Linked DNA regions of Homo sapiens: all the other regions are linked to region 3. The links are contacts of gene promoters, found by promoter capture Hi-C in human tissues and cell types (Jung and others, 2019). All regions are on one chromosome and are shown on one strand. The core of a region is centred on a gene start or on the middle of the fragment in contact, and the rest is flanking DNA. Distances in the headings are between cores, read along the strand shown. Region 1 overlaps LOC105372114 (a long non-coding RNA gene). Region 2 has its middle 42 kb from the start of SKA1. Region 3 holds the start of MYO5B (myosin VB). Region 4 overlaps MYO5B (myosin VB).

Region 1 (6,264 bases), core at 1,290-3,789, 160 kb after region 3:
CCTGCCAAAGCTCGTGTTGAAACTTGATTCCCAATGTGGTAGTGTTGGGAGGTGGGGCCTAGTGGGAAGTGTTTGGGTCATAAGGGCAGATCCCTCATGAATGGCTTGGTGCTGTTCTCAAGATAGTCAGTGAGTTCTTCCTATTTTAAGACTGGATCTGGATTAGTTCTCACAGGAATTGATTAGTTTCTACAAGTGTGGTTGTTACAAAGCCAGGTCACCCCTCATGTTTCTCTTTCTTCACACGTCTGCTTCCTCTTTGCCCTTCTCTGTCATGTTGTGACTCAGCACAGAAGCCCTTGCCAGAGCCAGGGTCATGCCATTGAGATCCTCAGCCTGCAGAACCATGAGCTAAATAAAACTCTTTTCTTTATAAATTACCCAGTCTCAGGTATTCTTTTATAGCAACACAAAAGGGACTGAGACATGCACCAAACAACAGAACTCCAAAATGTATGAAGCCAAAAAAATGACAGACTTGAAGGGAGAAATAGACAGTTCTGCAATGCAGTGGGTTGACATCCTGGGACTGCTGCTCCTGGTGGTAGGGGTTGACAGGACAAGCTATCTGCCCACATGGTGCTCACGGACTAGCAGAGGAGGCAGTGACAACTGCTGTGAAATAGTAGTGAGTGTTAAGAAGAAAGATGGGGAGAGGCACGTTAGGCAGAGTGAGGAAGTGAGAGAGATAAGGCAGGAGGGGTGTTGCAGAGCAGGTGAGAGAGGGGTATCCTAAGCAGGTGGCATTGGCAGAGAAGGCTGGGAATGGTCTACACATCCCATGTTTGTTTCTGAGTGGTGGGATAATGAATTTTTTGTTTTATTCTTTATATTTTTCTGTGTGTGTGTGTGTGTGTGTGTGTGTGTGTGTGTGTGTTTGAGACAGGGTCTCTCTTTGTCACTCAGGCTGGAGTGCAGCAGCACAATCTCTACTCACTGCAGCCTCCACCTCCTGGGTTCAAGTGATTCTCGTGCCTCAGCCTCCTGAGTAGCTGGGATTACAGGTGTGTACCACCACAGCTGGCTAATTTTTAAATTTTTTATAAAGTCAGGGTCTCACTATGTTGCCCAGGATAACATTTTCAATTAAAAACATGTGCTACTTTGATTTTCAGAAAAAGGGAGTGCTTAAAAAGAGAGCGAAAGTTCAACTTCATAAACTTGAAGAGCACTGCTGACTTCCTACCTGTGGCCACGTAGTCCTAGCTGCGTTTTTCTGGTGGCTTCCAGAAGAATGGCACTGCCCTGCCACCTTGTGGCCATGTGGCAAGTAAACCTTCCAGCCAGCATTACAATAAAGCCAAAATCTGTTTTCTCACGTTTGAGGAAGATGACAAATATTCAGCATTCTAAGTAAGCTATGATTTGGATGGAGCTTTATTGATAGCACTCAGAGATAACGTGTTCTGCTTTATGGTAATACTTCATCCTTTTGGCATCATCAAGAAACAGCCTCTCTACTCAAAGCTTAACTCTTAAGGACCTACATAAAGATTATCTGAACATTCTTATTCATTTCTTACAGAGTGTATTGAACACAAAAACCTTTCCTTTAGAGCTCATGATTTTTAAAAACAATATCTCCTCAATGCAAAGATAAGTTCAATCCATCACCAGGAAGAGCCCAGGCTTAGCTCATAGGAAATACAAGTGAATCCAGGGATGGTGGAGAATTTTTTTTTTCTTTTTCTTTTGTTATTTATTTATTTGTTTGAGACAGGGTCTTTCTCTGTCAACCAGGCTGGAGTGCAGTGACACCATCATGGCTTACTGCAGCCTCATCCACCTGGGCTCAAGCGATCCTCCCATCTCAGCCTCCTGAGTAGCTGTGACTACAGGTGCGTGCCACCACTCCTGACTAATGTTTGTATTTTTTTTAAGAGACCTGGTTTCACCATGGTCCCCAGGCTGGTCTTGAACTCCTGAGCTCAAGCAATACGCTGGTAGGGCTTTTTCTTATTGTTACCCTCTGTATTGATTTGTTCAGGTTGCCAAAACAAAGTACCACAAACTGAGTGGCTTCTTACACAACAGAACTTTATTGTCCACAGCGCTGGAGGTAAGAAGTTTGAAATCAAGGTATTGGCAGGGGTTGTTTCCTCTGAGGGGAAGGTCTGCTCCAAGCCTCTCTCCTTGGCTTGTATGGCCATCTTCTCCCTGCCTGTTCACATCACCATCCTCTCTGCATGTCTTCATGTCCAAATTTCCTCTTTTTTGTAAAGACAATAGTCATATTGGTTTAGGGCCCAGCAAATGACCTCATTTTAACTTGATTACCTCTGTAAAGATCCTATCTGCAAATAAGTCACATTTTGAGGTATTGGGGGTTAGGACTTTGAAATATGAATGTGGGGTGAGCACAGTTCAACTCCTGACACCCCTCCTGGTGTTGCATTTCAGTAGAAGACCAGTGAGCCTCAGGTAGGAACCTGGAAAGCCCCACCGTCTTGTTTCCTCCCATCTTCCCTTTCTTTTCCCTCAATGGCTTTCAACTCTGATTCACATTAGAATTATCCAAGGAGTTTTTAAATTTCTGATTCTGAACCCCACCCCTAGACCAACTAAATCAGAAGAAAACTCGCAGGGAAACTTAATCCAAGAAGGGATCAAGGAAGGCTTCCAATGGGAGGGGATTCGTTCACTACATTTTGAAAAATGAATGGATGATTGAGATAGAGAATAATGAGAGGTGTAGAAAGAACATCATAACCAAAGACTTAGTGGGGTCAGACAACATGGGTGGGCTGGCAGGGCTTGTGTGTGTCCTGATGGCAGAGGGAGGGGTGGGGGGTCACACACAGGGGCACAGGAGCAACCCTACAGGCAGCTGTTGCTGTGAGATAAACGTCCAAGCAGGAGGTGCTGAAAGATGAAGCTGATGAGGCAGGCAGGGGCCAAATCAAGAGAGGATGTGTGCCTCATGCAAAGAAGCCTGGGTTTCCACATCAGCATTTCAGAAAGGGAGCTGCCATCACCCCCAAGCTCACTACTGACCATAATGTCAGGTGTGGCTGCCCTCCTGTCAACTGCATCACCATTGTGATTCTACTTTCATAAGCAATGACAAGTGTGAGTTCACTGTTACGACAAAGGATGTCGTTGCCAATTCTGAAGCTGCTGTGGATGGCAGTGAGGCAGGATAGAGTGGAAGAGGCAAGACCAGGAGCTGGGCAAGACCAGTGAAGTATAATGGATGGCAGAGAGGTGTAGACCCTAGTCAGGAGGACAGACAGTTAAGAAATGCATTGGGTGGACCGGGCGCGGTGGCTCATGCTCATAATCCTGCACTTTGGGAGGCTGAGGTGGGCAGATCACCTGAGGTCGGGAGTTTGAGACCAGCCTGACCAATGTGCAGAAACCCTGTCTCTACTAAAAATACAAAATTAGCTGAGCATGGTGGCACATGCCTGTAGTCCCAGCTACTCAGGAGGCTGAGGCAGGAGAATCGCTTGAACCTGGAAGGAGGAGGTTGCAGTGAGCCAAGATCCTGCCATTACACTCCAGCCTGGCAAACAAGTGCAAAACTCTGTCTCAAAAAAAAAAAAAAAAAGAAAAAGAAAAAAAAAGAAATGCATTGTGTGGAGTGGGGCTCGGGGGTGAGGTGACCAGCTTGCCTCTTCCACTCTATCCTGCCTTACTGCCATCCACAGCAGCTTCGGAATTGGCAACCACATCCTTTGTCATAACAGTGAACTCACACTTGTCACTGCTTATGAAAGTAGAATCACAGTGGTGATGTTCCTGCCCAGGCACTGAGGTGAAGTGAATGGTTTGGCAACAGGGTACAAGCGAAAATGCAGAGGTGAAAATCTGGGCCTTGGAACAGCTTCATCAAGTCTGGCAAGGGAGACCCAATCCACTCAACTGCAGAATGTGCATGTGACCACTACATGGTGAACAGAGTACTGAGCTTTGCTGCTCTACCAACCATCATGGTAGGGGCACACATTCTACTCCCCTGAATGTAGCCAGGCTCTGGGGAGCTCATTTGCAGCTTTGACTCATTCTGGGCAGCCTCAATTTTTCTCAAACACCAATTGCATCTGGGAAGGTGAATTCACTGTGCCTAGGTTTGTCCCCTCTGCTATAACAGTGATGCAATGTCACGTGAAAGATTCCTATCATAATTTAACCATTTTCTAAATTATCTGGGAAGTTTATTTGGAGGTTTGGGAGTGCTCTAATGATGTATGATAAATCTTTGATGCAAAGATCTACAATCTTGCAATTTACTATAAGCATCTTTGAAGTACATGTTATTAATTTAACCTTATATAAAGGTTATATACAGAATCTGTACCTCAGTATGCTTAGTTGTATCCACATAGAGGACTTCTAAAACACCAAAACTGCCTCATTATACATTATATAGACTTGCACATCATAATGGCAGTTAATAAAATGAAATTCTGTGTTTTCCTTTTTATAGTTAAATTTTTCCTTAAAAAAAATAACTTTCAGGAGATAAGCAAGAAAAATGCCTTGGCCTGGGAGATTAAAACCTATCTGGCAAAATGAAAACATTGATGTAAATGACATGAAAATGGTTCTGTCTGGCTTTGCTGTGGCCCGTTATTAGAGATCAGATTGGCAGCTGCTTCCACAACTAATTGATTCTAGGAAATTTGGCAAGCCTTATACTTCTCTATCTCAGAAACTGGACAACTGCCCACTTTGTAAATACCAACGTAACAATATCCTTTAAAGTGCTTAAAATGCATTGGGAAAAATCCCTATCAAATAAAAGATATACTTATGTAACTTATTATAGTACTTGATTTCAAATATTTATATGTAAAATACTAATGACTGTTCTGATAAATACTTTATCAAATTCACAAAGTATGTCAGTATGTGAACAGCATAATCTAAAGGCTTGTGCTGGTGTCTTCCATTTGCCCCCTAAGATCCACTCTCTGTGGTTTTCCAGCCAGTCCTGGACCCAGTGGGGGAATGTGGGTGCTGACCTAGGGTTTCCTTTGCCTTCTGGCTTCAGGTTGGGTTCAGCCAACCAGTGTAGGGTTATCAGCAAAAGATCCATAGGTGGGAGGAGAATGGAGGCAGGTATTTATTCTCCCCATGAGTGTTCTCTGAATTGATACTGAAGGCCATAGTTCCTGTCAGGTGACCCATTCCATAGACCCCTCACCCCATGACCTTCAATCTTTGTGCTTAGAGGTAATAATAACTGTTCCCTGAGATTGCAAGCCCCAGAGAACTCCATCATCATTTGCTATCTTCTGTAAACTACCCATATATTTTAAATATTTCTTTTTATTAAATTCTCCTCCAGTGATCCAAATTGAATTTTCCACCTTGAATGGTAACAGTGCTTTTACTCTTTTCCTTTGTGTTGAAAAGGAAGCATGGGCAAAAGGTGCTGAAATACAATCTCTGCTTATTAAAACAAACAAATAAACAAAAAAAAAAACAAGCAATTCAGTACCACAAAGCTGCTATGTTAATACATCTCTTTTTCCTTCTTTTTCTTTTTTTTTTTTTTTTTTTGAGACAGTCTCCCTTTGTTGCCTGCGTTGGAGTGAAGTGGCGCGACTCAGCTCACTGCAACATCCACTTCCCAGGTTCAAAGGATTCTCGTGCCTCAGCCTCCGAAGTAGCTGGGACTACAGGCATGCGCCACCAGGCCTGGCTAATTTGTTTTTTTTTTTTTTGTATTTTTAGTACAGATAGGGTTTCACCATGTTGCCCAGGGTGGTCCTGAACTCCTGAGCTCAGGCAATCAGCTTGCCTTGGCCTACTGAAGTGTTAGGATTACAGGTATGAGCCCCACACCCAGCCTCCTTTTCTTTAAACAGAAGGCAGTGCTCCAATTTCCAGTCAGCTCTGAATCACTCTTTATTGTTGTTTTTTAAAATTTTTTTAAAAAATAGAGATGGGGGGTCTCGCTATGCTGGCCAGGCTGGTCTCAAACTCCTGGTCTCAAGCAATCCACCCATCTCAGCCTCCCCGAGTGCTGGAATCACAGGCATGAACCACCATGCCCAGTCTCTAAGTCACTCTTGAGGTCAGTGCACCTATAGCCTGTGAGGGTTTGTGGGATTATTCAGATATTGTTATTGCTTGGGTTGGACATTTTATACCCCCTTATGCAGCAGCCATCCTCTAACGTGAACTAGAAGGAGGAAAGTTTTTCTTTTTTTTTTTTTGAGACAGAGTTTCACTCTTGTTGCCCAGGCTGGAGTGCAATGGCACAATCTCAACTCACTGCAACCTGAAGGAGGAAAGTTTTTCTTACTATAATTG
Region 2 (5,797 bases), core at 1,936-4,435, 220 kb after region 3:
GGTGGAAAGAGAAAAAAAAGGATATTCCGTCTGGATGGGTCATAAAATATGTAAAAAACATTCTGATAATTACACGCAAGTCTCATCTTTTAAGAAAAGAGTCTCTAAATTAGGCTTCAAGAAATACTGAAATTCTGTTACTAATTACGTAATAAAAACTAAGAAGCTTTCATTGACTAAGGACCTTGATAAAAACGTGGCCTTTTTTTCAGTCAATATTTTTAGTTTTCTAATTTATTTTGCTTATTAAGTATGGCTTTAATATTTTATAATTTATAAGTAAATTATACCTAATCATAAATGAAATGAGTGTAGTGCTTTGAGTAGCATTATATTTGATAGTATGCAGTTTTGTTTCATAATATTAAATGATTGCTTTTATGAAATATCCCATCTCCTAATAAACCATTGCCATTGTTCCACAAATATACTTACTAATATAAGTGGCAAAAGGGAAGAATTACTCAAGATATTGAGGGATCTTCCTGATACATTGCAAAGAATGTGACTCAAACTGGAGCTAAGACTATATATGATTAGAGAGTTGAATATAATTTAATATAATATCAATTTAGCTCTGTTAAAATTAGGTTGACTCAAGTCTCTAAGGAACACACAAAAGTATTTATGAGAAATTATAATGTGACTAGCAGACTGTGCCTCAAATTCTTTATTATGAGTACTCTTTTGCCCTGGTATATTGAAAAGCAGTTAAGTTAGGCAACTTAGAAACAAAATCTTGTTTAAAAAACTAAGATAAAATTTACATACAGTGAAATGTACAGATCTTAAGGATATGGCTCAGTGAGTGTTGACCAGTCCATATAGCCATGTAACCCACACCTCTATCCTTTTTTTAGTCATTTAATAAAATTCTTTTTATTTTGAAATAATTATAGATTCACATGCAGTGGTAAGAAATAACAGAGAGATCCCCTGTACCCTTTATCACAATGGTAACATCTTGCAAATCTGTGTAGTACAGTATCACAACCAGGATATTGACATTGATACAGTGAAGATACAGAACATTTCCATCACCACAAGGATCCTTTTTGTGTGAACATGTCTTCACTTCTCTGGGAGTGCAGTTCCCCAGAGTGTTCTTGCTGGATCCTATGGTAGTTGTTTATTTAGTTTTCTTTTTTTAATTGTCAAATTGTTCCCCAGAGTGGCTGTACTATTTTAAATTTCCCACTAAGCGCTGCTTTTTCTGTACCCCACAAATTTTGATAAGTTGTATCTTCATTTACCTTCTTTCAAAATATTCTAAAATTTCTCAAAACTCCTTTTTTTAACCCATGTGTATTTACAAGTGTGTGGTTTTATTTCCAAATATTTTCAGATTTTTCTATATATCTTTGTGTTATTGATTTTTTTGTTTAATTCCATGTTGTTCTGAGAACATACTTCGTATGATTTCTATTGTATGATTAAGTTGTGATTTCTGGACTGGGATGTGGTTTATCCTAGTGAATATTCCATGTGAGCTTGAGAAGAATGTGTATTCCACTGTTGTTGGATGAAGTATTCTATAAATGTCAATTAAATTCAGTTGACTGATGGTTTATTGTTCAGCTCAACCACATCTATACTGATTTTCTGCCTGCTGCGTCTATCAATTACTGATAGAGGGGTATTGAAGTCTCCAACTATAATAGTGACTTTGTCTATTTCTCTTGCAGTTCCATCAGTTTTTGCCTTATATATTTTGATGCTCTGTTGTTAGGTGTACACACACTAAGGATTATTATGTCTTTTTGGAGAATTTACCCCTTTATCATTAATGTCTCTCTTTTCCTGGTCATTTTCTTTGTTCTAAAGTTGGCTTTGTCTAAAACTTATATATAGGTACACCAGCTTTCTTTCAATTAGTGTTAGCAAGGTGTATATATCTTTTTCCATTCTTTTATTTTTAATCTATTTGCATATTTATATTTATAATGGTTTTCTTTTAGACAGCCTCTACTTGGGTCTTGGTTTTTTTAATCTACTCTGACAGTGTTTGTCCTTTAATTGATATATTTAGAAAATTCACCTCTAAAGTGATTATTGATATATTTAGGTTAATATCCACCATATTTGCTACTGTTTTCTATTTGTGGCACTTGTTTTTGTTTTTGTTTTTGTTTTCAGAAAACATTCCCTTCTTTTTCTGACTTCTCTGTTTTAAGGATTTTATATCATTCCATTTTCTCTCCTCTCTTAGCAATATATATTATCTTCTTTTAAAACATTTTCCTATTGTTTGTCCTAGAGTTTGCAATATATATTTACAATTAATATAAGTCCAATTTCAAATAACAGTATACCAGTTCATGGGTAGTATATGTACCTTGTACAAGAATATGTCGTTTCTTCTTACTGTGCCTTGTAAGATCAATCATTTCACTTACCCACAAATTATAATCACCTAAAACATTGTTGCTATTATTATTTTAAACCAACAATAATCTATTAGAACAATTATGAACATAAAAAATAAAAGATTTTATTTTATCTTCATTTATTCCTTCTCCAAATGCCCTTCCTTTCTGAAAATATATGTCAGATCAAGTTTCTGACATATATCATTTTCCTTCTGCCTGAAGAAATTCTTTTTTTTTTTTTTTTTTTTTTTAGTATTTATTGATTATTCTTGGGTGTTTCTCAGAGAGGGGGATGTGGCAGGGTCATAGGATAATAGTGGAGAGAAGGTCAGCAGATAAACATGTGAACAAAGGTCTCTGGTTTTCCTAGGCAGAGGTCCCTGTGGCCTTCCGCAGTGTTTGTTTCTCTGGGTACTTGAGATTAGGGAGTGGTGATGACTCTTAACAAGCTTGATGCCTTCAAGCATCTGTTTAACAAAGCACATCTTGCACCGCCCTTAATCCATTTAACCCTGAGTTGACACAGCACATGTTTCAGAGAGCACGGGGTTGGGGGTAAGGTTATAGATTAACAACATCCCAAGGCAGAAGAATTTTTCTTAGTACAGAACAAAATGGAGTCTCCTATGTCTACTTCTTTCTACACAGACACAGTAACAATCTGATCTCTCTTTCTTTTCCCCACATTTCCCCATTTTCTTTTCGACAAAACCGCCATCGTCATCATGGCCCATTCTCAATGGTCGCTGTCTCTTCGGAGCTGTTGGGTACACCTGCAGAAAGGCTGTCACTTCACACTTGGAAGATTGCACAGCAGCCATGCAGAGGCGCTCCTCACTTCCCAGATGGGGTGGCCGGGTAGAGACGCTCCTCACCTCCCAGACGGGGCGGCCAGGCAGAGGTGCTCCTCACCTCCCAGACGGGGCGGCCGGGCAGAGGAGCTCCTCACCTCCCAGACGGGGCGGCCGGGCAGAGGCGCTCCTCACTTCCCAGACGGGGCGGCCGGGCAGAGGCGCTCCTCACATCCCAGACGGGGCGGCCGGGCAGAGGCGCTCCTCACTTCCCAGATGGGGCGGCCGGGCAGAGGCGCTCCTCACTTCCCAGACGGGGCGGCCGGGCAGAGGAGCTCCTCAACTCCCAGACGGGGTGGCGGCCGGGCAGAGGTGCTCCTCACATCCCAGACAATGGGCGGCCGGGCAGAGGCGCTCCTCACTTCCCAGATGATGGGTGGCTGGGCAGTGATGCTCCTCACTTCCTAGATGGGGTGGCGGCCAGGCAGAGAGGCTCCTCACTTCCTAGACGGGGTGGCGGCTGGGCAGAGACGCTCCTCACCTCCCAGACAGGGTGGCGGCCGGGCAGAGGCACTCCTCACCTCCCAGACGGGGTGGCGGCTGGGCAGAGGCTGTAATCTTAGCACTTTGGGAGGCCAAGGCAGGCGGCTGGGAGGTGGAGGTTGTAGCGAGCTGAGATCACGCCACTGCACTCCAGCCTGGGCAACATTGAGCACTGAGTGAGCGAGACTCCGTCTGCAATCCCAGCACCTTGGGGGGCCAAGGCGGGCAGATCACTTGAGGTCAGGAGCTGGAGACCAGCACGGCCAACATGGCGAAACCCCGTCTCCACCAAAAATACAAAAACCAGTCAGGCATGGCGGCACGTGCCTGCAATCCCAGGTACTCGGCAGGCCGAGGCAGGAGAATCAGGGGAGCCCGAGGCAGGGAGGTTGCAGCGAGCCGAGATCACGACAGTACAGTCCAGCCTCAGCAACAGAGGGAGACTGTAGAAAGAAAGAAAGAGAGAGAGAGAGAGAGAGGAAGGAAGGAAGGAAGGAAGGAAGGAAGGAGAAATTCTTTTAACATTTCTTGCAAAGCAGGTCAACTGACAACAAACTCCCTCAGATTTATTTGTCTGAAAAGTCTTCATTTTTCTTTCACTCTTGAAGGATACTTTTCTGTTTTTTTTCCTTTCAACATCTTAAATCTATCACTTTATTGTCTTCTTGTTTGCATAGTTATTGATGAGAAGTCTGATGTGATTCTTATTCTTGTTGCTGTTATAGGTGAAGTGGGGTTCTTTCTTTTTTGCCCTGACTTCTTCCAAGATTTTCTCTTTTTCTTTGGCTTTCTGTAGTTTTAATACAATATGCTCTGGTATAGGTTTTTTGGTATTTATCTTTGGTGTTTTCTAAGATTCTTAGATCTGTGGTTCGTATCTGTCATTAATTTTGGGAAATTCTCCGGCACTATTGCTTCAAATATTTCTTTCTCTCCATCCTCTCTTTCCACTCCTTGTATTTCTATTACATGTATGTTTCCCAGCTGTTCACTCATTAGTCCTGGGTCACAGGTTATTTACTCCTAAGGCCCTTCTGTTGTTTCCATAGAAAGCCAAAGCTGTTTAAAAAGCCCCTCTAACTTAGCAGGATTCAGTATCCAAACTTTGTCTCCCTTTTTGTAGGTAGCAGCTGATATCATTACTCAACTTTTTTGCCTTCCAGCTGTTGCTTTCCAATGTACTCCTTGGAGGCCCCTCTTCTGGATGGAATGTGTAAGTAGATTTGGGGGCTTCTCCCTCTGTGGCTCCTTCTTCTCTAGAATTTTGCCCTCCATTATCAGCCATTCTGGAACTTCCCAGTCCTCCCATTGACACCTCAAGCCAGTAAGACTGCTTTCTATTTTTAGTTGTAGGGCTAGCGACTGAGAAATACCCTCAGGGAAAAATACCTGTCTACATGTAGATCTTACCCAGTTTAATTCCTTTCTTTCTGGAGACATATTCTTTTTATTTTTTTACTTTTTATGTTTGGGGTACACATGAAGGTTTGTAACATAGGTAAACTCGTGTCATGGCGGTTTGTTCTACAGATTATTTCATCACCCAGGTATTAAGCCCAGTATCCAATAGCTATCTTTTCTGCTTCTCTCCCTCTTCCCACCCTCCCTACTCAAGTAGACGCCAGTGTCTGTTGTTTGCTTCTTTGTGTTCATGAGTTCCCATCATTTAGCTCCCACTTATAAGTGAGAACATGCGGTATTTGGTTTTCTGTTTCTGCATTGGTTTGCTAAGGACAATAGCCTCTAGCTCCAACCACGTTCCCAGAAAAGACATGATCTCGTTCTACTTTATGGCTGTAGAGTATTCCATGATGTATATGTACCACATTTTCTTTACCTAATCTGTCATTGATACGCATTTAGGTTGATTCCATATCTCTGCTACTGTGAATAGTGCTGCAACAAACATTCGTGTGCATGTGTCTTTAATGGTAGAATAATCTATATTACTCTGGGTATATGCCCAGTAATGGGATTGCTGGGTCAAATGGTAGTTCTGCATTTAGCTCTTTGAGGAATTGCCATACTGCTTTCCAAAATTATTCAAACTAATTTACACTCACCCAAACAGCAAAGATAGAAGACTGCCCCTCC
Region 3 (6,321 bases), core at 1,086-3,585:
TTTAGGGACGAACTAAGTGGCTGGTATAACTTAAAAAAGTGTCTTGAACTTGATGGAAACTGTGTTGAGAAATAAAGTTTATATTTTTAATCTTTTAACTCCATTTTTCCCCCACAAACTTTCCCCCTCATATAATACAGCAATTCAATATTGCCTGACAAAGGACTTTGACACATTGTAGGTATATTCAGTTGAGTCACTCCTTTTACTTAGGAGCACAAGTTGTATCTCCATGCACTTTAATGTAACAAAGCTTCGGCTCTTTGAGCACTCCAGTTCAGATTTTTCCCCTGCCTCACTGGCTTCCAGCCTCCAGTCCCAGCTCCTGAAAACCTAACCGGCTTCAGTGAAAGAACTGAAAGCTGAGCTTTTAGGGATCCTCCCAATACCTCCACAGCTAAGAGGGGTGGGGTGCCGTTCCAGGGCCAGGACTGTCACAGAGTTCACGCCCTGGCTCCCACCTCCTCCCCTCCTCCCCCAGAGGCCGTCGCCCATCCCTGATCGCTGCACAGGTGGCCCCTGGTGGGCTCGGAAGCTGTATTTGAGGCTGCTGCGGCCCCACCCCCAGCCAGGTGACAGCCTCCGCGGCCACCTTCCTGAGCATGAACTCATCCCGGCCCTGCTCCCCTCCAGGAGGAATGGGAGAGTTGAATAATTCCTCAAACTTAGAAGGGTGGCCAGCCCACGGAGCCGAAGGGCTCCCACATGGGCTAGACAGCCGCGTGTGATCGCCAGGTAAGGACGCGGAAGTGACTGTTCCTACCCAGCCCAGACCTGTTGGCCCGGGCGGGTGTCCCGGGAATCGCATACCCACGCAACGCGCGTGGACACCACACGCACACACAACTCTGCATGGAGGCGTGTGCATAGGCACTGTTAAACGTGTTTTGGCCACCCAAGAAGACGAACAGGAAAACCAGGCATTGGACTATCCAAAACTTGTTTTCTTAAAGGTGCATAGGGCACATGTGAAGAAAAGGCCTTTGCCCCTCTCACTACTGACTCCAGGTTGAAACTCGAGGGGTCCCGGGCGGCTGCAGCGCTGCCGCGAGCTCCCCTGGAAGCGGTGGCTTGTCCCTAACTTTAACCACAGCAACTGCTGCGGAACGCGGGCGTCTCCGCCCGGGCTGCACCTGTTCCCGATTCGGAGCACCCAGCCTCACACATCCCTTCTGACCTTGAAGGCATCCTGAAACTCACACCCTGCTCCCGGTTCGACTTTACTCCAACCCCCTCCCCGCAGTCACTGAAGCCCTCTTTGTACCAAAGAGGCCGCGTCAAAACATCCATCCCCAGCAAATTCACAATGCTCTTCCCTGGGGTCTCCGGAGATAACGGCGCACCCCTCTACCCATTGCTTACCCTCACTCCATCCAGCCGCCGCGCCCTCACGCCAGGTTGTCTCCTCCCTCTCCACCAAGTCCAGAACCCCCACCTCTCCCAAGTCCAGGGTTCCCTGTTGTGGGTATGCGGGAGGAAAGGACGCCTCGGAGGCGCGCCCTCGAGAGCCGGCGCCGCAGAGCCCCTGGGGTGGGGTCCACGGCGGGGACAGGGGACAGCAGCGGGAGCACCGCGGGGGCCCGTCCCGCGCACGGCGCTCAGAGCTGGCAGGGTCGCCCTGCCGTTCGGGGAACTCGGTTGGAGCCGAGCCCAGGCAACGAAAGTGAGGGGCGCGGCGGGGAGGGGGCGACAGCCCTGGCTTGGTGCTGAGCCGTGGCGCTGCGGAACCTCTAGGAGCCGGGTGGCCGGTCAGTGCGGGCGTTCCCGGAACCGCCAAACTTTCTCCGCCAACCGAAGTTAGGGACTCCGAGGACAGTGACGAGGAGGACACCGCGGAGGGGGGTCTCCCGTCACCTCCCGCCTCCAGTAGCCGAGGGAGAAGGCGACCCTGAGTACTAGGTGGCCCCGAGCGCGCCACCCCGGCCCCGGGGCGCCTCCCTCGCGGCCGCGCTCACCTGGCTGTAGAGCTCGCCCACCGACATGGCCCGGGCCGGGCGGGGCTCGGGCCCCGGCTCCTGGCTGCCCCGCGGCTCTCAGTCCGCGGCTGGCCCGCCTGGCGCCATGTTCCCGGGCTGGCCTGGAGTTTCTCGATCTTCTCGCTCTTCTCCGACCTGCCCCGCCGGCTTCCCGCAGGCGCCGCGGCCGGCTCGCTCCCGGCGGCGCGACCTTTACTCCCGCCGCGGCGGCGCAGCTACGGCCGGACAGGAGTTGCGAGCGCCGGGGGAGGAGGCCGCGCCGCACCACTCCCCTCCCAGGTGTGGGGAGGAGGCGAGGGCCGGCGAGGAGGGAGGACCCGCTCGCGTCAGAGCGGACGGCCCGTGCGCCGCCGCGCCTCTGAGCCCTGCCGGTGCCCGGCCCGACGCGCCCTCCCGCGCCCCCGCTGCCACCTGGGCCTCCGGGCCGGGGGCGGGGCGCTCAGAGAGGAGCTCCGGGACCGGCGCGGGCCGCCCCCTGCTGGACGCCGCGCGCGCGCAGGCACAGGTGCGCCCCGGCGCCCGCACCTGCCCTGCCGCGCTCCGCTTCCACCCGCACCGGGCCCCGCGGAGTCCGGCATGAACGCGGTGCAGACAAGAAAAGGGAAGAGGAACTAACCAGAGAGGGGGGAAAAAAGAGAAGCGTCTATGGCTGGAAGGCCCCAGACATTGCCCTCGATTTTACCTGGCTGTATTCAGCGCTTTCATGATTAAAATTCAGTTACTCGTAGATCGTTATTAAGGCGACCTGGATATACATACACCAGGGATCTTCTCCTTCAAACTGAACTCTCTGCGCGGAAATCCTTGTCAGTAAAGTGGGAGTCGTAACTCCTTCTGTACAAATATTGTCCACTTTCGCCCACAGCCTCCAAGGAGACTCCAGGCCACTCATCTCAGAGGGCTTCTGCTTTTCCGGGAAGTCTCACGTTCTCCCAACCCCCGTCTCGTCTACATGCAGACTCCGGGTCCTTTTGCCACTCACTACCTCGTTTATTTGTGTTCCCTCTCTGACCATGGCACTTGGCTGCCTGCAGCAACTTCAGCTCCTCTCCTACTTCCAGTGAAAAGTAGAAATTTCAACCAAGAAAAAAAAAAAAAAACTGCCAGAAGTCTGTGGAGGGAGACGAGGGGCTGTCAGAGGAGACACTCCCTTCTGAAGCTGACATCTGTCCCTGACCCAGGGGTGGCCCCTGAAAAGTGGTTCTCAACCGGAAGATATATCTGTACCAGCCGGGGCAGTTGTTCAAGAGCCCCAGAAGGTGATTCTCAGAGGCATCCCACCTGGAACTCAAGATCCCGTTGTAATTCACCTGTGCAGGCCTTCCCATGGGCACCTCCACAATGAGAGTCACATGGGGAGCTTTAAGCGTTCCAAGGAAGAGGCCCCAACCCAAGGAATTCTGATATAATGAAGGATGGGACCTGGGTATCCCAATTTTTAAAGCTCCTCTGAAAGTCTAAAGGATGGTACTTCCAGGGTGACAAATGCATTGACCAAAGCTTGGGCGGCTCTCATTGGACCTAAAAATGGAACTCTTCACATCAGTGGCAAGAGCAGAAAGGGATTTTTTTCTCTTCCTCAAAAGTTTTTCTGCATATTTCCCTTCCCCGGATTCCTGTAGCTCTTAAAGTGTGTCCCCACCCCCCACGCCCACCATCAGCATCACCTGGTAACTGTTAGAAATACAAGTTATTGGGCTCCACTGCAGACCTACTGAACCATAAACTCTGGTGTGGGGCCAGTACTCATTGTTCTTTCTGCCTCCAGGTGATTCTCCCCTTTTTGAATAAGAAAGTCATCAGTCCTGCCTAGATCCTGGCCTCTTCCTCCACCACCATTAGTGGTCCCATCTCTCTACCAGCAACTCTTCCTCTCTCCACTGGCCCCTGGCTTTTTGTGTTTTCCTCTCCTGCTAAACTTCTTAAAGCAGTAGCTTCACTTATTTAGCTATCTCCACTTACGCCCAGTACCTCCTTAATTCTCTGATTCTCAACACTTTATGCACATCAGAATCACTTTTGAAACAAGTGGATGTCTGGTTCCCACTCCCAGAAATTCTGATTTAACTTGTCTGGGGGGTGTTGCCCTGGGTGAAAGGATTCTGAAGAGCTCCCAGATGGTTCTAATGGCAGCCAAGTTTAAGAGCTGCTGTTCTGGCCGGGTGTGGTGGCTCATGCCTATAATCCCAGCACTTCGGGAGGCCAATGTGGGCCGATCACTTGAAGTCAGGAGTTCAAGACCAGCCTGGCTAACATGGTGAAACCCCGTCTCTACTAAAAGTACAAAAATTAGCTGGGCGTGGTGGCGCATGCCTGTAATCCTAGCTACTTGGAAGGCTGAGGCAGGAGAATCGCTTGAACCTGGGAGGTGGAGGTTGCAGTGAGCCGAGACCACACCACTGCACTCCAGCCTGGGTGACAGAACAAGACTCCATCTTTAAAAAATAATAAATAAATAAATAAATAAATAAATAAATGTTGCTGTTCTAATTTCTTCTTATTTGGCTTCCACTCAGACCTATCCTATTGAAATTGCCTCATCACTGTGAAGCATGGGGTGGGAATTGATTCAACCCATTACGTTAAACCATCTCTTCCCTGAGTACTATTTTTCTCTTGTTTTCTCAGCCTCTCTAACCAAACCTTCTCAACATTATTTTCTAGGCCTGCGTCCTCTTCCTGGTTTCTGAATAAAACTATGCTCCATTTCAGAGATCTCATCTTTCTTCTCAGCCACGCCCCCATTTTGTCTCTTGCTCACAATGCTAATTCTCAAATCTAATTCTAACCTTACTCAAGATCCACCTTTCCACCTGCAGATAGGCAATGGTAACAATGCCACTTGGACCTCGGACCAACCTGACATTCATTTGTTTCCATCCTTTCTCCCCACCCGTAACTGGTTCCAACTGTCTGGCTTCCATCACACCTGGCACAAATGAAAAGCTCAATTCATGTTAACTGAACTGAATCGCATTCCTGAGTCCTACACTTGGCCAGAGCTTTGTGAATTTCTAATTCCACAATCAGATATGGTGTTTCCCTCCTTTGAACAATAAAGACATTTTAAAACTTACTTGATCCAGGAAACATACCAAGCGCTTTACTTCTGTGATCCTGTTGAAGCCTCAGAGCAACCTTATAAAGGAGGTTCAGAATATTAAGGCTGTTTCACAGATGGGCAAAGTGAGGCTTAGGGAAGAAGGGTGTGAAAAACACTCTAGGTCAGACAGCTACTGTTCAATTAAAGTCTCACTCGAGCGTCTAACCCTTGCTTTTTATGTCAATGGATGTTGAACTTCAGTGTGTACCAGGATTAAGGGGCTATCAGGGGATGTTAATTCAGTTGGTCAGAGACATGATCAATGAGTCTGAATTTTTTTTTTTTTTTTTTTTTGAGATGGAGTTTTGCTCTTGCTGCTCAGGCTGGAGTGCAGTGGTGCCATCTCAGCTCACCGCAACCTCCGCCTCCCGGGTTCAAGCGATTCTCCTGCCTCAGCCTCCCGAGTAACTGGGATTATAGGCATGCGCCACCATGCCTGGCTGATTTTGTATTTTTAGTAGAGACGGGGTTTAGCAGAGATGGATCAACCTCAGGTGATCTGCCCACCTTGGCCCCCAAAGTGCTGGGATGACAGACGTGAGCCACCATGCCCGGCCTATGAGTCTGCAAATTTAATACATATCCCAGGTGGTGTAGGGCCCACACTTTGAGAAACATTGCTCTGTGCTCCACGGCTTCTCAAAGTAAAAAGAAGATACCTGTTGGAAATGCCTTAGTCTCCTTCCTGACAGGTGAGGATTTCCCTCACACAAATAATAAAAAGTGAACTTCCAAGGCATTCATTTGCACCCTGTATGATATGTGAACTAATATCCCTTTCTCCTCCTCACCACTAGGTTCTAAGAGTCTTGAGGGCAGGGACCACACCTGATCCATATTTGTGTCCTCTGCACTTCCTAGAACATGACTTGCACAAAGTTGATCACAGTAAATAGTAGGTAAATAGAGATATGTTTTGAGCCAAGTCTTAAAGGAAGTACTGCTCATTAATTAGTGGAAAAGAGAAAATAAAGGGATTACTAAACAGAAAAATTTGCATAAGCAAAGAAAGAGAGGAGGGATTCCACTAAGAAGAAGGCTTCTTATTCACTGGCCCTTCTGTGAAAGCGGTTTATAAACTATACAGTGACAGTTAAAATTATTTTCTTATGGGCTGGACACAGTGGCTCATACCTGTAATCCCAGCACTTTGGGAGGCTGAGGCGGATCACTTGAGGTCAGGAGTTCACAACCAGCCTGGCCCACATGGTGAAACCCCATCTCTACTAAAAATACAAAAAT
Region 4 (6,321 bases), core at 2,171-4,670, 230 kb before region 3:
CTTGGAACATAAAAAGTCTGAATTTTAACTTATCATTACTACAGCTCAACATTTTTCTGTCTGACTGTACTAGTCATTGTACTTCGTGAATTGTCTGATGCTTGGTCAATTTTGTTGGATTTTAACTTTAAAAATGGACTTACCTGAGCGCTTTGTATCTTAGAATATCAACACTATCATTCATTGCTTAACTCCAATGTGTGCAATATGGCCCAATCTTTGGGCAGGGGAAGGTGGAACCGTTAGAGGGGAGGATGGGGGTCATGATATGCAGCGTAGTGGGCAGAGGCAGGGGTCCTCCCTCAGGCCATGCTGGCTACGCCAAGGGGTCTGGAATTTACCAGGCAGCAGCAGAGAGATTCCGAAGGATGTCAAGTTAAGAACTGACAACCTGACCTGCACCTTAGAGACCGGCAGGAGAACAACTGTGAGCCGGGGGAGAGTGTGCAAGCCTGGAGGCACGAAGGTGAGCAAGGTAGTTCTTACTACAGTAGGAAGCCAGAAAGATCCAGTCAGGGCCTGACGTACACTGCTGGTGGCCAACCAATAGAAAGGTTCTGGGCATGAAGGAAGATGTGGATGAGAGGGCCTCAAATGACCAACTGGATGTGCAGATAAGACCCAGGCAACAGGATGGATGTGGTCACACTCACCATGCCGGCAACATTATACACACATTGGCAGCTTTAGCTACAAATGCTTGCAGCCCACCTTATATGCTCCACAGCAGCATCAGGCTGAGGGGTGAGAAGGGCAGAAGCCTATGAAGAAGAGATGGACATTTTCCATCTCTTCTCATTCACACACACTTCTTTTCATACAAACACACTTCTTTTCACACACACACACACACACACACACACACCTCTTCTCATTCTATACTGCCCAATGCACCAAATGGACGGCAGTGGCCCCACTAATGAGAGCCCACAGAACACTAAGCCCAAGTGCTCCACAAGTTCTGAGTAATGCCTCCAGCAGCCAAGAGTTAGGCCTTATTATTAATCCCATCCTGTGGCTGAAGAAACTGATGGGCAGGGAGACTGAATAAGCTGTGCTGCCCAAGGCCAGAGAGTCGGTAGGCAGAGGCAGTGTGTGAACCCAGACAGTCTGATTTCTGAGACCACAGTCTTAATTCAGAGAGGAGGAGAAGTTTCATGAAAAAGGAAAAACAGATGAGGTGGAAGGGCTGTGAATATGGAGGATGATGTCCTAGAAGGAGGTATTTGAGCTCATAGTGAATGGGAAAGGGCCAGTAATACCAACGAGGTAATAGCGATGGACACAGGCTCCATTCAGCCCACTCCATGTCTCTACCCTTTCCATTCTTCAGTACAACTAAATTTTCTCAGTGTCATACATACAAAGTGTCATGCAAGCCCTTCCAAATAGAGCATAGTCCCTCAGTACCACCCCAGAGAGAAATGTTGCAGCTGGCCCTGATGGGGGCTGAGGATGGTGGTGGTGGAGAGATAGCACCTGTGCAGAGGGAACACCACAGATAGAGGCATCAGATACCCAAAGGGGCCGGGCCGGTGCCCAGAATACATCAGGCTTCTCCCACCCTGGTGCTCACCTCCCCCATCAGGAGGAGTAGGAAATCATTTAGAGATTAAATGAGTCAACTGCTTGGAGACAAACCACATTAAAGCACAGCCTTTGGCCATGCCCACGTGTGAGAAATAATTCTAGGTTGAAAAAACAAGATCAAAGATGTAAAGTGTATGCTGGGATGAAGGAGGCCACCCCTGTGCACTCCAGACCAAGCAGGAGAAGCACTGTGTCTGCCAGTCACTGCCTTGAATTGGGGCCCTTCCAGCCCAGATGATAGTCTTAAAGACTGAGCTATGTCCCTTAGAACCTTACTGCCTTCCCCGATCCTCCACCCTGAGAGAAGCTGCTGATGGCAGCCAAGCCCCAGAGGAAATTGAATTAATAAAACCTAGGTGGGAGATAAAAGAGCCACCCCAGCAATTGGCCAGATAATAGCAATTGGGTGTGCTGGCAGAGCTGTGCTAAGCTCCACAGAGGATTTAAATATCTCAGACTTGTCATTTTCTAAAGGTTTACACTGGTAGCACTCCACAAAGAACATTCTCATTAATTTGAGATGGACTGAAATTAGCTTGTAATTTTCCTATTTCTAAGATATTATCTGGTAACAATTCCTGTGCCATCTAGCATAATTACTTAAATGCCGGAGGCCCAGAAATGAATGAGGGGCTCGGGCAGCTTGGGGAAACATCTAAAATGACAGACCTCAGAAAGCCACAGTTGGGGAGATTGGGTAACTTTTCCTTTACAATGGAATTATATTTATAGTAATTCCTCCCATCAACAGAGAAGACTTTTTAAAATAAACACAATGAATCAATTTATAGTTCACAACATTAAAGTGTCACAAAGAAATTTATATGCTAAAGAGAACTGAATTTCTCTTGTAAAATCAGTGTTGAAAATATTTAAACCAGAATCCTTGGGCCGGAGGAAGGTCAAAACATAGAGTAAGAATCGATGCTGAAATGTGGCATCTGGTCTCTCGATGGCACAATGATCACACTGTTTCCATTTCTATTTTCATAGTCGAAAAGTATACAATTTCCTTCTCATTCTACCTTAACTTCAGAGTGTAGTAAGGGACACAGATGCCTCTACAAATAAGGTAGTGTCCGTTGGAAAGTGAAACTGCAATAAAAAGTCAATTAGTCACTAAGTTAATGATCAACCTCCTTGAATCTCTCACTCCATGACCTGGAGAGAGAACAGAGAGGCAGTGAGATGCTTTGAAGATTGGGAAACTCTACGTTCCCCTGGCACAGGTCAAAGGAACTAAAATCTCCTAGCTCAGCCTGGTCTTTCCAATTTATAAAGCTCACTCTCCAGCATTCTGCCTTTGGTAGACTGAAAAGATGGACTACAGATTAGATACAGACGATAGCTTCCAGGGAATGATTATTAGAAGTCACACAGAAAATATAACATGGAGAAATTCTCCCTGGAGAAGCCTTTAAAAGCAGGGCCATCATGCATTGAGGTCAGAGAAATGATCCAGACATCCTTTCAAGGTCCCTTTCCATCTTGAAGCCTATAAAATCTCACAAGGCCACCCTGGGTCTGTCAGAGAGGCCAACCCTTCTGATCTCTTTACTGAACAACCTCGGGATGCTGGCTGTACCTTGGAATGGTGGGGCCTGCATTCCGCTCAGGTGCTTCTCTGTGCCTAGATGCCCCCACCCAGGACTAGTTTTTTTAGACAGAACACAATCCCAGGCACTGTTCACACCCCAAGGCGAAGGTCAGTTATTCTTCTTGAGGACCTAAATCCACTCAGTTTGCCAAATGCTCCAATTCCCAGCTCGTCTTCAGGCCTGAAACTCCAATGCAGGACAGGAAAACATCCACTGTATGGCGATCCTCTCCCAACCTAACAGCCAACTGTCCCAAACTATGAAGGCTGTAAAGATGAGCAAGTCACAGTCCCTGCCCAGAAGAGCTACTGGGCAGATGACAGGAAACTAGTACATGAGAGCCTCCCCAAGGAATAGAAATTGTATGTGTTGTAGGCTTTTAAAAGACAATGAGGCCATAGTGTTCCCAAACCAAACTGAGGGTCGGGCTGCTTATTCTCGTGGCCCAATAACAAGATGCAGATGAGCTGGGGAGGAAAAGAGTTTTTACTTTCTGCAACCAGTTACAGGGAGAAGGCCTGGAAATTATCGCCAGCCCAACTCAAAATTACAAAGTTTTTCAGAGCTTATATACCTTCTAAGCTGTATGTCTACATGTAAGTGTGCATTCATCCAAAGACATAAGTGATTAACTTCTAATCTATAACTAAGATCTGAGTCTTGAAGACTTTCCTCTGGAGCCTCAGTAAATTTACTTAATCTAAATGGGTCCGGGTGCTGGGGTGATTACCCTTATCTTGTCTCCTGCTAAATCACGGAGGTTTGGGGAGTTCCTTCAGGCCCCCCAATAAACTTGTTTCTAGAGGCCTGGGGAGTTTCTTCAGACCCACAATAAAACTTGTTTAATCTTAAACGGGTCCTGTTAAGAATTCATTCCTTATTTTGTCATGCTTTAAGGCCCAGGAAGGGCCTAGGCAAGACTCTTGGTGGGCTCTTGTTACATTCCAGCCTTTGTATGAGGGCACTGACTTTTTTAGCTTTTAATATTTAACTTAACCACTCACTCAGTACTGAAACAGTTGCTATAGAGGCCTGCGTTAGTGAGACCTGGACTGCCACATAGTGTGGGAGTACTGGCATGGACAGAGAGAACATGGAACTTCATCTGAGCCTTGGAAGCACACAGTGGTGTCAGGCTCCAGGCACACTCCAAAGGGCCACCTCAGAACAATTCGGGAAGGTGGAGCCTGGCTTTAGAGCCCTCTTGAGCTATGAGGCTTTCCTAGGAGGCTGGGAGACTCCAGGGTGAAGCCAACAGCTTCCGATGATCTGCAAGGTTTGAGAACACTGTGGCTAGCCATGCATGTCCTCCCTGAAGAAGGCATGTCCAGGGATCTTCTGGGCTGTCCAGGGCTGAGACACTGTCACAGGCTGAAGGGTTAATGCAATTCCTGATTTCTCCCCCTCCATTTTCTGTGAAACCTTTCGATACTGGCTAGAGAAGAGATGGGTAGCCTCCAAATAATTATTGCAGCTTTGAGGTTATTTATGTTTATTTTGGAGAGCGAGACCAAGAAAACTAAAGCAAAAGAATATTTTTTCCCCACCAAACAAAGGTGAACAGTGGGTCTAAGAAGTTTACTTAAAATATATCATTGTAGTCAACCTACAGAACGTGAGGAAATATTTGCAAATCATATTTCTGATAAAAGATTAATAACCAGAATATGTAACAACTTGTAAATGAATATGTAAAACACATTCCGCCTGCTCCCACACTGTGGCGTGTACTTTCATTTTCAATAAATCCCTTCATTCCTTCCTTGCTTTGTGCGTTTTGTCCAATTCTTTGTTCAAGACGCCAAGAACCTGGACACCCTCCACCGTTAACAACACAGTGCTGGGATTATAGGCATGAGCCACCGCGCCCGGCCTTAAAGGCATTTTTAAACATACCATTAAAGAGCACCGAATAGAGTTGGATGCTAATTTATTATTAGGAAGTACCACAAGAAAGTAACAGAGGACTGATGAGGATATAAAATCCCAGGAAATCCTATGTCCTGCTTCCTGGGGTCAAAACTTCCCCACCTTCTACCCCATTCTCTCCCCAGCTGTTCCTCAGCAGAACACATGAATCTGTTACAGCCTGTGTTGCTCCCAGGCCAACTGTCCTCCGCAAGAATGGGCTGGCCATAGCCAAAGCCCTCTGCTACCTTGGCATCTTGAAGGCTGAAATCAAAGACAAGTAAATGTGTATTTTTCCCAAATTGAAGCCGTTTATTTCTTGTTGCCTCAAAGAGAGGATAGGAACAAAGGATTAGAGACTCAAGGGGAGGAGAGGTATAAAGGATTACAGACTGCAATTAATCAGGCCTAGAGAGGCAAATGCAGGTTAATGCAACCTGGAAAGGGAATCCCAGCCAAAAGCTGCCAGGATCTCCCCTATTAATTTCCATACCCTGCCTGGTCAAAAATACCCTGAAGGCGACTTCACAGATCCTTGGTTAAGGTGAAGAGCTCAGCTTGGGGTGACTAAATTGTTCTGAGTACTGCTTGCTTTGCACTTTTTGTGGAGCTGGGACAGAGGAGCAAGATGTAGGGAAGCTTCCACCAGACACTGGGGGTCTGGAACCATTCAGAAAAGCCTTGGGGAAGGGCCTCTGAGCAGAGCACTCACCACAGTCATGGTGGAAGCAGCTGTGGCCCATGCTAATTTGTTTAGAAGCCCACAGCCTTTCTCCTCTACAAGCTAACTATGAGTCAGAACACAGTGATGGGGAGAAATGTGTGTATACGATGCTGGCGTGTGTACTGCTTGCTTATAGAAAGAAGTGAGTGTGTATTCACTCTGGCTGTGAGTTCTGTGGTAACATTTAACACATTTATAGGAAAAAGTGGAGTGGCTCATGTTTGGTACAGAATTATTTCGGTTCATGAATGAGCTTCACTGGCGGGCCAGGAATGCCCTAGATAGGCACTGCAGCTCATCCGGGGACAGTTATCCCAGTGGAAGAAATCAGTGGCCACTGGTGGGGTCAAGGGGAAGAAGCAGCAGTTCCACCCTCGTTTCCTAGCTTTGCCCATTTCCAACCTGAGAGGGAGGCAATGTCTCGTTCTTTTCCACTTCCCGGATGTGGCTGGCTGTATTCAGAAACTCATCCCAGTATTCTTTCTGTTCTCTCTGGACTCC

The links. Contacts are between HindIII fragments. The study calls those that stand out against the background at their distance.
Region 1: a contact is called between a fragment that was not itself captured here and the fragment with the promoter of MYO5B in region 3, in 1 of the 25 tissues and cell types used here (lymphoblastoid cells).
Region 2: a contact is called between a fragment that was not itself captured here and the fragment with the promoter of MYO5B in region 3, in 1 of the 25 tissues and cell types used here (bladder).
Region 4: a fragment that was not itself captured here is called in contact with the fragment with the promoter of MYO5B in region 3 in 1 of the 25 tissues and cell types used here (aorta).

What each region holds. Positions count from the first base shown.
Region 1 is chr18:50,356,176-50,362,439 of GRCh38, forward strand. All of the region lies in intron 1 of LOC105372114 (a long non-coding RNA gene), which reads right to left. Among named protein-coding and RNA genes, the nearest start is that of SKA1, 16 kb to the right of the region's middle. The HindIII fragment of the contact is 7,543 bases long and covers 1-6,264 here.
Region 2 is chr18:50,414,278-50,420,074 of GRCh38, forward strand. No RefSeq gene overlaps it. Among named protein-coding and RNA genes, the nearest start is that of SKA1, 42 kb to the left of the region's middle. The HindIII fragment of the contact is 7,478 bases long and covers 1-5,797 here.
Region 3 is chr18:50,192,812-50,199,132 of GRCh38, forward strand. MYO5B (myosin VB) reads right to left here and starts at 2,336. Exons shown (of 40, transcript NM_001080467.3): 1 at 1,956-2,336. The coding sequence starts at 1,982. RefSeq lists silencers at 2,011-2,250, 2,311-2,550. The HindIII fragment of the contact is 5,061 bases long and covers 1-5,059 here.
Region 4 is chr18:49,964,620-49,970,940 of GRCh38, forward strand. The region is part of intron 10 of MYO5B (myosin VB); the gene reads right to left. LOC124904299 (a long non-coding RNA gene) reads right to left here. Exons shown (of 2, transcript XR_007066365.1): 1 at 6,223-6,321; 2 at 5,102-5,360. Among named protein-coding and RNA genes, the nearest start is that of SNHG22, 150 kb to the left of the region's middle. The HindIII fragment of the contact is 7,322 bases long and covers 1-6,321 here.